Regions from separate parts of the Homo sapiens genome. Here all the other regions are linked to region 4. Evidence: promoter capture Hi-C in human tissues and cell types (Jung and others, 2019). All regions are on one chromosome and are shown on one strand. Each heading gives the region's core, a stretch centred on a gene start or on the middle of the fragment in contact. The rest is flanking DNA. Distances are from core to core; before and after follow the strand shown.

The links. Contacts are between HindIII fragments. The study calls those that stand out against the background at their distance.
Region 1: a contact is called between a fragment that was not itself captured here and the fragment with the promoter of STARD10 in region 4, in 3 of the 25 tissues and cell types used here (dorsolateral prefrontal cortex, heart right ventricle and hippocampus).
Region 2: a contact is called between a fragment that was not itself captured here and the fragment with the promoter of STARD10 in region 4, in 4 of the 25 tissues and cell types used here (heart right ventricle, lymphoblastoid cells, mesendoderm cells and 1 more).
Region 3: a fragment that was not itself captured here is called in contact with the fragment with the promoter of STARD10 in region 4 in 2 of the 25 tissues and cell types used here (mesendoderm cells and thymus).

Annotation. Positions count from the first base shown.
Region 1 is chr11:73,124,763-73,127,462 of GRCh38, forward strand. All of the region lies in intron 2 of FCHSD2 (FCH and double SH3 domains 2), which reads right to left. Among named protein-coding and RNA genes, the nearest start is that of FCHSD2, 16 kb to the right of the region's middle. The HindIII fragment of the contact is 4,053 bases long and covers 1-2,700 here.
Region 2 is chr11:73,080,615-73,083,314 of GRCh38, forward strand. All of the region lies in intron 3 of FCHSD2 (FCH and double SH3 domains 2), which reads right to left. Among named protein-coding and RNA genes, the nearest start is that of FCHSD2, 60 kb to the right of the region's middle. The HindIII fragment of the contact is 7,146 bases long and covers 1-2,700 here.
Region 3 is chr11:72,461,409-72,464,108 of GRCh38, forward strand. No RefSeq gene overlaps it. Among named protein-coding and RNA genes, the nearest start is that of CLPB, 28 kb to the left of the region's middle. The HindIII fragment of the contact is 5,010 bases long and covers 1-2,700 here.
Region 4 is chr11:72,792,717-72,795,416 of GRCh38, forward strand. STARD10 (StAR related lipid transfer domain containing 10) reads right to left here and starts at 1,331. Exons shown (of 7, transcript NM_006645.3): 1 at 159-1,331. RefSeq lists an enhancer at 1,087-1,656. The HindIII fragment of the contact is 19,379 bases long and covers 1-2,700 here.

The DNA.
Region 1 (2,700 bases), core at 25-2,524, 330 kb after region 4:
AAAAAAGGAAACAATGGCCAGAAGTTTCCCAGGTTTCATGAAAAGCATCAACCATTGAATGATGAACCCCAAACAAGATAATTACAGACACTATACTAGTCACATTACACTCAAACTGTAGGAAACCAAAGATAAAGAGAAAAAAGCTATTAGAGCAAGGGAAAGCACATTCCATAGATGTGAACAAGTCTATAAGTAAGAGCTAACTTCTCATCAGAAATAATGAAAGCCAGAAGACACTGGAGTGACCAACTCAGAATTCTATATCCAGCAAAAATATCTTCCCAAAGTGAGGGTGAAATAAAGACATTTTCAGACATATGAAAGCTAAGAGAAGTGTCAAAAGCTGCAGAATTGCACCAGAAATGCTGAAGGAAGTTCCTTAAGCTGAAAGAAAATGATAACAGATGGAAACTCAAACCTGTATGTTGGTTTCAGGAAGGAAAGAAGAGTCAGGATTAGTAAATATAAGACTTTTTTCCTTCTCTTAATCTTTTTAAAAGATACCTGTTTAAAGAAAACTAACATTATATTACGAGGTTTATAAGCAGCACAAAGTCTGGGATGGAATAACTGTAATTAGACCATTGTAAGGTCGTATGTGGAATGGTACAATATTAACTCTAAGTAGACAGTGATAAATTAAGAATGCATGGTGTAGATCGAGTGTGGTGGCTCATGCCTATAATCCCAGCACTTTGGGAGGCCAAAGAAGGGGGACTGCTTGAGCTCCACAGTTCAATGATGCCTGGGAGACATAGTAAGACCCTGTCTCTACTAAGAATTTAAAAAATTAGCCAGGCATAGTGGCACACATCTGTAGTCTGAGCTACTCAGGAGGCTGAGGCAAGAGGACTGTTTGAGCTCAAGGGGTTAAGGCTGCAGTGAGCCATGACCGCACCACTATAACCTAGCCCAGACAACAGAGACCCTGTCTCAAGACAAAAAAAAACACAATGTCATATCTTAGAATGACCACTTTAAAAACAGAGGAATAGCTAACAAATGCAAAAAGAAAAAGAAAAAAGAAAGAAAGAAAATGGAATACTAACAATTTCAATTGATTCAATGTAACTAAGAAAAACTATTATATAAAACACTTCTTTTAGTAAAACAGAGCAAACCATTCTTCCATGGAGAGAGCTGGCTAATGCAAAACTACATTTCACAACAGAAACAATGTTTTAATTGATGGCTATGATATAAAACCTTTGGATAAAGGCAGCTAAAATGAAATTTGACATTAGGCAAGACTCTATCTAATATGTTTGCTTGTTTCAAGACAAAAGAATTCCACGGCCAGGTGCGGTGGCTCACACCTGTAATCCCAGCACTTTGGGAGGCCGAGGTGGGCGGATCACAAGGTCAGAAGTTCGAGACCAGGCTGGCCAACATGGTGAAATCCCATCTCTACTAAAAATACAAAAATTAGCCAGGCATAGTCATGGGTACCAGTAATCCCAGCTACTTGGGAGGCTGAGGCAGGAGAATCGCTTGAACCTGGGAGGCAGAGGTTGCAGTGAGCTGAGATCACGCCACTGCACTCCAGCCTGGGCAACAGGGCAAGATTCCATCTTAAAAAAAAAAAAAAAAAAAAAAAAAAAAAAATTCCACAATACAGAAAGAAAGGAATACAGTAGTACATAAAGCTTGTTTTCCCAACTTTGTGCTACAACCAACTGGAAACCAATCACTTTATGAAGAAAAGTTTGTAAATCAAGTATTCTTAATACTTGTACATATTAGAAATAAATTTTAAAGTCTATTAATAATGAAAATAGCTTCACTAAAAACTAATTAAAAGCCAAAAATGGCATTTTAGCATCAACTAATACGAACTTTTATAATATCTGTTAAATATCTGTTATGCTTAACAGACATGCAATAAAATGTTTACCAATATTACTGAATCATTAAATTTTAGTTTTGAGCATAATATTCACATAGTTTAAAATTCAAAATACACAAAAAAGAACATACAATAAAAAGCTTAGACTGGGTGCAGTGGCTCACGTCTGTAATCCCAGCACTTTGGGAGGCCAAGGCAGGTGGATCACTTGAGGTCAGAAGTCCAAGACCAGCCTGACCAACATGGCAAAACCCTATCTTTATGAAAAATAAAAAAATTTGCCGAGCATCGTGTTGCACACCTGTAATCCTAGCTACTCAGGAGGCCAAGGCACAAGAATTGCTGGAACACGGGAGGCAGAGGTTGCAGTGAGCCGAGATTGCACCACTGTGCTCCAGCCTGGGATGGAATAAGACTCTGTCTCAAAAGCAAACAACAAAAAGAGTCTCTGTCCCTTGCTCCCATCCTCCAATCACCAGTAAGAGGAAAAACAATTATCACTAAAATACAATCAGGAGACATATATAATATATACTCCAACTTGTTTCTGTGGAACCACAGACATGGTAACACTTTTCATAACACCAGAAATAACATTTTCTTATTAAATTGGGATTATTTCCAAGCTCACAAAACAGAAAACATCTGGATGACAAAGGATTCCCACATGAATGCCAAAAAGATCAAATGGAATGTTAAAACAAAGCACGATCAAGGAATATTGAAAGGACCTAACAAAATGAAATTAACAAAAATACCAGCTAAGGTTCCATAAATTACTCCCGATCAACACTGACAGAACATCTGCAGCAGTGGGACAAAGGACAGGGTTACAAGTTTCTGTGCCTAGA
Region 2 (2,700 bases), core at 34-2,533, 290 kb after region 4:
AGAATTGACAAAGAGTGAGTTATAAGCATATTATTTAAAGATATAGAGGCTGGGCATGGTGGCTCACACCTGTAATCTCAGCACTTTCGGAGGCTGAGGTGGGCGGATGATCTGAGGTCAGCAGTTCAAAACCAGCCTGGACAACATTGTGAAACCCCATCTCTACTAAAAAGACAAAAATTAGCCAGGTGTGATGGCAGGCACCTGTAATCCCAGCTACTCAGGAAGCTGAGGCAGGAGAATCACTTGAACCCAGGAGGCGGAAGTTGCAGTGAGCCAAGACTGTACTACTGCACTCTAGTTTTTCCTGGGTGACAGAGCAAGACTCTGTCTCAAAAAAACAACAAAAATAAAATAAAATAAAATAAAATAAAGAAATAGAAATAATCACCAGGAGAACCAAAGTAGACATCCACTTTTAATCTTTGTGGAAAAAGACTGGGATTGGAGCAGAGGACTCACTTTTCATAAAATTTAATGTAGTATTTTACATTTTAAATAATAAACATGTCCTATTTACTTGATTAAAACTTTAAATCGACCAGGCACTGTGGCTCATGCCTGAAATCCCAACACTTTGGGAGGCCGAGGCAGGTGGATCACAAGGTCAAGAGATCGAGATCATCTTGCCCACTATGGTGAAACCCCAACTCTACTAAAAATACAAAAATTAGAAGGGCATGGTGGCACGCACCTGTAGTCCCAGCTATTCGGGAGGATGAGGTAGGAGAATTGCTTGAACTTGGGAGGTGGAGGGTGCAGTGAGCCAAGATGGCGCCACTGGACTCCAGCCTGGGTGACAGAGTGAGACTCCATCTCAATTAAATAAATAAATAAATCTTGTTACAGAAGACTGTATCATATAAAAATTTTGATTTTGTATTAAAAATTTTTAAAGCATATCATAGACTTTTTTTCTATTTTTTTTTTAGACAGGGTTTCACTCCCATTGCCCAGGCTGGAGTCCAATGGCACTATCTGAGCTCACTGCAATCTCCGGCTCCAGGGATCAAGCAACTCTCCTGCCTCAGCCTCCCCACTAGCTGGGATTACAAGCATGTGCCACTGCACTTGGCTAAAATAGCGTATCACAGACTTTCATCTCAATTTTATAAATATATATGTAGTGTACATGTATGAAAGTGTATTTGTAAAGGGCATCATAACTGTTGCTATTTCACAGGTTTGAAAGGATCAAACCAGATAACATATATAAAATACTCAGAGCATGGTACAAAGTAAGGATTCAATAAATGTCAGCTATCATTACTAGTATTTATTATACAGGCATAGAAAAAGCATTCAAGATCGGGCGCGGTGACTCACGCCTGTAATCCCAGCACTTAGGGAGGCTGAGGTGGGCGGATCACCTAAGGTCAGCAGTTCGAGACCAGCCTGGCCAACATGGCAAAATCCCGTCTCTACTAAAAATACAAAAATCGGCTGGGCGCGGTGGCTCATGCCTGTAATCCCAGCACTTTGGGAGGCCGAGGTAGGCGGATCACGTGGTCAAGAGATTGAGACCATCCTGGCCAACAGGGTGAAACCCAGTCTCTACTAAAAATACAAAAAATTAGCTGGGCGTGATGGCGTGTGCCTGTCATCCCAGCTACTCAGGAGGCTGAGGCAGGAGAATCGCTTGAATCTGGGAGGTGGAAGTTGCAGTGAGCCGAGATCGCACCACTGCACTCTAGCCTGGATCACAGAGTGAGACTTGTCCCAAAAAAAAAAAAAAAAAAAAAAAAAAAGAAAAGAAAAAGCATTCAACAGAAATATTAAAACTGATGCTATTCATTATGTAAAGCACCTGATACACAATAAGCACTCAACAACTACTGATTGAACCAATGAATTAATTAGTTCTGTCTAGCTTTCAAGGAATAGGTGATTTTCTTCTAAGATTATCAAATCAAAAATAAAGGCAAACAGCTACAAAATTAACTATAATGAAATCAGAATTTCATTAAAAAATCTGACAAAGCCTAAAAGAGTCATGCCCCAATCTCTCATTATTTATAATGAGAATAAAAACAGTAGCAGCAATAGTGGTTACCATGTAGAAAATTTACTGTATGTTAATTTTTCCTTCTAACAATCTCCCATATTTTAAAATTTTTGCTACAAAGACAACTTTTACAATTTGCAGAAGGAAATAACAATTTTAGAATACTCCCCCACATATAAAGTAATTGCTTAAAGGGTCAAAATTTTCAAACTGTATCAAATTATCTTTGTACATGAAAGAATAGTTATTAATTCTTATACAACCATAAAATGATACATCAACATAATTTTTTCTTGTCACATTTTGTAATCTGGACTCCACTAAAGGTCTAAGTAAAATTAAAGAAGGAAATGCTTCAATTTCCCTAGGAAAAGCTCCATGTCATCCACTAAAAGCATTATTACTCTTTATCAACACAGTCATAATGAGAACTAAATGCGTGATGAAAAATTAACCTTTCATAAACTGCAGAGAATGGGGCATATAAAGAAGAATAAATCAACAAACTTGTAAAAAGTATTATTATTCATACTTGTAAATACTTTACAAATATAGTAAATAATGTCTCCTCCAGGTTTACAACCTTCTTTATAATGATTCAAAGGCAGCAAAGTGGGGGATCAAAATGAGACAGAAATAACAAGAAAAGGGCTGGGCACAGTGGCTCATGCCTGTAATCCCAACACTTTGGGAGG
Region 3 (2,700 bases), core at 78-2,577, 330 kb before region 4:
ATGGTGGCTCACGCCTGTAATCCCAACACTTTGGGAGGCCGAGGAGGGTGGATCATGAGGTCAAGAGATTGAGACCATCCTGAACAACATAATGAAACCCCGTCTCTACTAAAAATACAAAAAATAGCTGGGCGTGGTGGCATGTGCCTGTAATCCCAGCTACTCGGGAGGCTGATGCAGGAGAATTGCTTGAACCAGAGAGTCAGAGGTTGCAGTGAGGTGAGATCATGCCACTGCACTCCAGCCTGGCAACAGACTTAAGACTCCATCTCAAAAAAAAAAAAGGCCGGGTGCGGTGGCTCACGCCTGTAATCCCAACACTTTGGGAGGCCGAGGAGGGTGGATCAAGAAGTCAAGAGATCAACACCATCCTGGCCAACATAATGAAACCCCATCTCTACTAAAAATACAAAAAATACCTAGGCATGGTGGCACGAGCCTGTAATCCCAGCTACTCGGGAGGCTGTGGCAGGAGAATTGCTTGAACCAGGGAGTCAGAGGTTGCAGTGAGCTGAGATCACGCCACTGCACTCCAGCCTGGCAACAGACTTGAGACTCTGTCTCAAAACCAAACCAAACAAAACAAAACAGAAAAAACTTTCCATGTTTGATGTGTGCCTTTCTAAGATTTTTTTCTCCCAAAACCTACTCCTAAATTTTATTTTCTGGGATATGACCAAAATGCCAGTGAATGACTCACGTAGTTTGGGCTGATCAATACAAAACTTTAATAATTTTGCTAGCTAGTGTGCACATTATCACTACTTTTTCTTTTTACTCGTATTTTTATCTTTTGAGGCAGAGTCTCACTGTGTTGCTCAGGTTGGAGTGCAGTGGCACGATCACTTCCCGGGCTCAAGTGATCCTCCTGCCTCAGCCTCCCAAGAAGCTGGGACTACCAGAGTGTGCCATTGTGCCAGGCCATCACTACCTTTCAGTTCCCTTTGTGAAGTCTTCCTTCTAACTATTTAGGATGCTGTGGACTCACAGTTCTTTCAATAGACTCAGTTCGTTCTGATTAACTGTGGTCATTTTTTCCCTCTCTGGAGTTTATGTGGTCACTCTTTGGCTACTCACAGCTCTGCTTTCTTGAATGACAGGGTGTTCCAGGCTGGGTATGAAATGCTTTCTACTTCAAAAGGTGGAATCAGTTTTTTTCCCCAGAATCTTAGTTCTTCTTCCAAGAGAAAAATATTAGAGCCAAAATTTGGGACCTAGGCTGGTGCCACTTATCAACCAGGAGAAGGCAGATCAATATCAGAGTTTTCTCAGGTCACTTTGATGACCTAGCATGCATTTTCTTTTTGTTTCTGCCCCACTCTCCCTTTCATGTAAGGAGTCATGAGTACATCGTATCATGCTCCAAGGTTGTTGTTACTTTTTTCTAATGTGAGATATTATTAAATATCCCTCCTTTTTTCAGCTGATAATTTTTCTATTTTCTCACCAACATTGATGTTAAACAACACTCAAACCAAGCCATGTTTTCATTAGTTTTATTCCCCCAATTTCTAAGTCTCCAATTCATTTTCTCTTTTAACCTCAGCTGAAGCATCCTCGGGCTGGCTACCAAGTGTGCACATCCAGATGATCTGACTGATAAGCATCAGTTGCACATCAATCATCCAAAAGGAAAAAGAAGTGCCAACCATCCTAGAGTAGCCTCAAAGCAAGTACCAAACGCTTATAAGGGCAGCATATAGACGAATACCATTGCTCACAGTTTCATTCCAATTTTTCCTCTAGTTTCCTCCAGCTGGACCTTACCATTTAAATCTATTTTCCTTCCCTTTGATTTTTTCCCCTTTTACTTGGTGCTCAAAAAAATTGTTTTTTTCTTCAGGATTGGAGGTCAAATAAATTTTGTTTTGTTTTTAGTGGTTTTAGAACTGAACTCCATTTTCTCAAAGGTCCTAGGGTACATATCTTTTACTCTCCTTACTTGTCTTCCCAATTTGCTTATAACATTGTTTGGGGTTCCTTTATTTGTTACTTCTGTAACTTTAAATGCTAACTTACACTTTTATTTCTTGTTTCATTGCCTATGGGCTGTTTCTTGACCTCAAGTTTTTAAGATATTGGTGCTCTTGTTCTTTATTTACTCTTCCTTTTATCTTCCACCTCTGTTTCTAGCATCTGTGCTTTTATGTTAACATTGTCAAGTTAAAAACACTGATATTGCTTGATGATACTGTCTTATAAAAATAAATAAAATAAAAACATTGATAGTCTCTTCTTTTGCCATAATACATTCTGTTCAATCTAAAAGTTAAAAATCAATATGTGAATACATACAATCTATATTAGTTAAGAATATTTTCATTGTATGCAAGACTATTTTCATTGTAAGCAAAAAGTGGATTGATAGGCTCATGCAATACAAAAGTCCCAGATTAGGGCTGGCTACAGGTGTAACTGAGACAGGAGCTTGTGAAACATAATCAGGACATGGATCCCCTCTGTCCTTTGGCTCTGCTCCCCAGTTTGTGTTGGTCTCATTCGCAGAGAGAGTGTCTCTCCCCTGTGGTTTTGATATGACTGTCGGCGACTTCTGGGGCAACATCATTCCACATTCATGTCCAGTAGGAAAGTGTGAAAATCTTTGCCTCAACTTTTCATCTAAAGTCATAAGACTCCCTGTGATGGGACATCTTGGGGCAAGTGTTGCCTCTTAACCTGTCAGGTCATTGGTGAGTGCTT
Region 4 (2,700 bases), core at 81-2,580:
CCACTGCCCCCAGATGGAGTTACCTGAGTACCCAATTCCTCCCAAGCTCAGAAACAGTGTCCACTGCCTTCCCACTCCTTTCCATTCAGAGTCTGTCCCCTTAGTGCTGCCCCCTCATCTGTCACACCTGGGTTCTTTCCCTTACTTGGGCCACTGACCTGAGAAGCAGGGTCTGTACAGCTCCAGCAACACTCTCCTCTTCCTCCAGAATTCTCCAGATCCTCCTCAGCTTCTTGGCTCTGGTGCTCATCTCAACACAGCAGGGTCTTCCTCCATCAGGCCAAGGTGGGGGTAGGAGAAGAATTGGGAACAGGGACTCCCCTAGGTTCTCAGGGTACAGTCAGTCAATCTAAGCCTGTATCCAACAAAGACACTGACCCCTGGGGTACAAGGAAGGGCTCCAGGCCCAAAGGCAGGAGGATTAGGCTTTAGCTCTTGCTCACAGCCTGCTGAGACCTGGGGCAAGCCCCTGTCCCTCTTTGGGCCCTCAGGTTTGCAATTTGCAGAATGAGGAAATGGGTTCCTCAATCTACAATCACCTGACTATAATAATATTTTGCCTTTATATACCGCGTGGGTAAATTCCTGAAAGTAAACTAAGCTGTTTTCACCCCTGGATCTCATTTGATCCTCCCAACAGCCTGTTTGCATTTACAAATGAGAAAGCTCAGTTCCCTAAGGGAACAAAATTACCCAAAGTCACACAGCAAGCTGGAAGCAGAGCCTGGGTGCAGTCCTTGAATCCTGATCCTTCCCTGGTCCTTTACTCTCTATGATGCTGGAAATCTGCCTGACTTCCTCTAACCTGTTGTCCCATTTGTAAAAGGACTGTTGTGAGGACTGAATTAGGAGAGGCGATGAAGAGGGTCATTCCTTGTGAATCATAAAAGAAAGGACCACAGAACGATGACTGGACCGTTAGGTTACTATTTATTACGGTTATCTTCGCTCAGGCGCCCCCACGTGTCGATCCCGAGACTCTCGGCTTGCGCAGGCGCTCTTTGGTGTTTACAGCGGCCGCGAAGCCCCGCGTTTGCGCGTGCGCTTCCCGCCCGGGACCGCCCAGAGGTCCCGGACTAGGGGCGGACTAGGGGCCGCTCTGCCTCCCGCCCCCTAGTGGTTGTGGCCGCTCTGTCACCACGGCTCCCGGGGCCTCTGTCGGCTCCACTTTGGTTGAGACGTCTCCACAGCCCAACAACGGCGGCGATCTGAGGAGAGGCAGGAGAAAATACGGCGCGCTCGGCATCGTCCTTCTGACCGGGGACTCCAGCATCTCAGTCATCGCGTCACCAAGCCCCACGTGCAGGTTCTGGCATCCATCATGGCAAACTGGAGACCGCGGTGAATTCCACCGGAATGGCGCGCGCATTGCCACATGGGAACTGTAGTTCTTGGCTAGGACCTTTCTGGGGCTGGGCCGCTGGAAAAACTACATTTCTCAGGAGCTCAAGAGTCAGGCTGACAGAAAGGGGGCCCGCGGCATGTTGGGAGATGGAGTTTGGGGGGTTCGTGCTAGCAGGGAAACAGTGAAGCAATGGAGCCAAGTGTTCTGAGCCTGGGCCTGTGGGTTTGAGTTGGGCAGGAGTTACACAGTAGCTCTTATAAGAGAGGAGTAGCATTGTTGCGGCTTTTAGAAAGAATGCTACTTATTAGTTGTGTGATCTGAGCGATCAAGACAAATGCCCCTTTATCTTTTTTATTTATTTATTTTTTGAGACAGGGTCTCTGTCTGTCAGGCTGGAGTGCAGTGGCCCCAGAACTGCTGGCCTCCCGCCTCACCCTCCCAAAGTGCTGGGATTATAGGCGTGAGCCATCAGGCCTGGCCAGATGCCTTTTTATCAACTACGATGGACCTTAAGGTTAAGGTTAAGGAAACAAACGTTGCCTACCTCAGGGCTCAGCTGTCAGCTGGCATGGCAACTTCTTAAATTTCTACTGCTGCCAGAAAAACCACACTCTTACTAAACCCCTAGCAATAGGAGCTATCATGCAAATTGTCAGACTCTTCTTTACTGAGATTTACAACTCAGACCACTACAACGCTGATCGACAGAGGACAGGCCTTACAAACATTCTTTCCTGATAAGTAACTGCAGACCTCAGGCCAGTTTCAGCAAGCTCATAGAGACTGCACGCAAACTGTGTTTGTGTCCTATAGTCCACCTTATGATGCAAAGAACCAAATTCCACCTCACTTTAACGCAAAAACCCCATCCCAAAGTGAACATGGAACATATGTTACAGGTGTTTACCCATTGTGCATGCACTCACATCCCCTCATAAATATGTATAGCTTTTCCCCAAAACCTGCTGAATATGTATGATTATTGTGAAATACAGACCCTGTGAGTCATAAACCAGCCTAGGCCGGGAGTGGTGGCTCACGCCTGTAATCCCAGCACTTTGGGAGGCCAAGACGGGCGGATCACGAGGTCAGAAGATTGAGACCATCCTGGCTAACATGGTGAAACCCCGTCTCTACTAAAAATACAAAAAAATTAGCTGGGTGTGGTGGCGGGCGCCTGTAGTCCCAGCTACTCGGGAGGCTGAGGCAGGAGAATGGCATGAACCTGGGAGGTGGAGGTTGCAGTGAGCCGAGATCGCACCACTGCATTCCAGCCTGGGCGACTGAGCGAGACTCCGTCTCAAAAAACAAAAACAAAAAACAACCAGCCTGCCTTTTCCCTATACAAAGAGAGA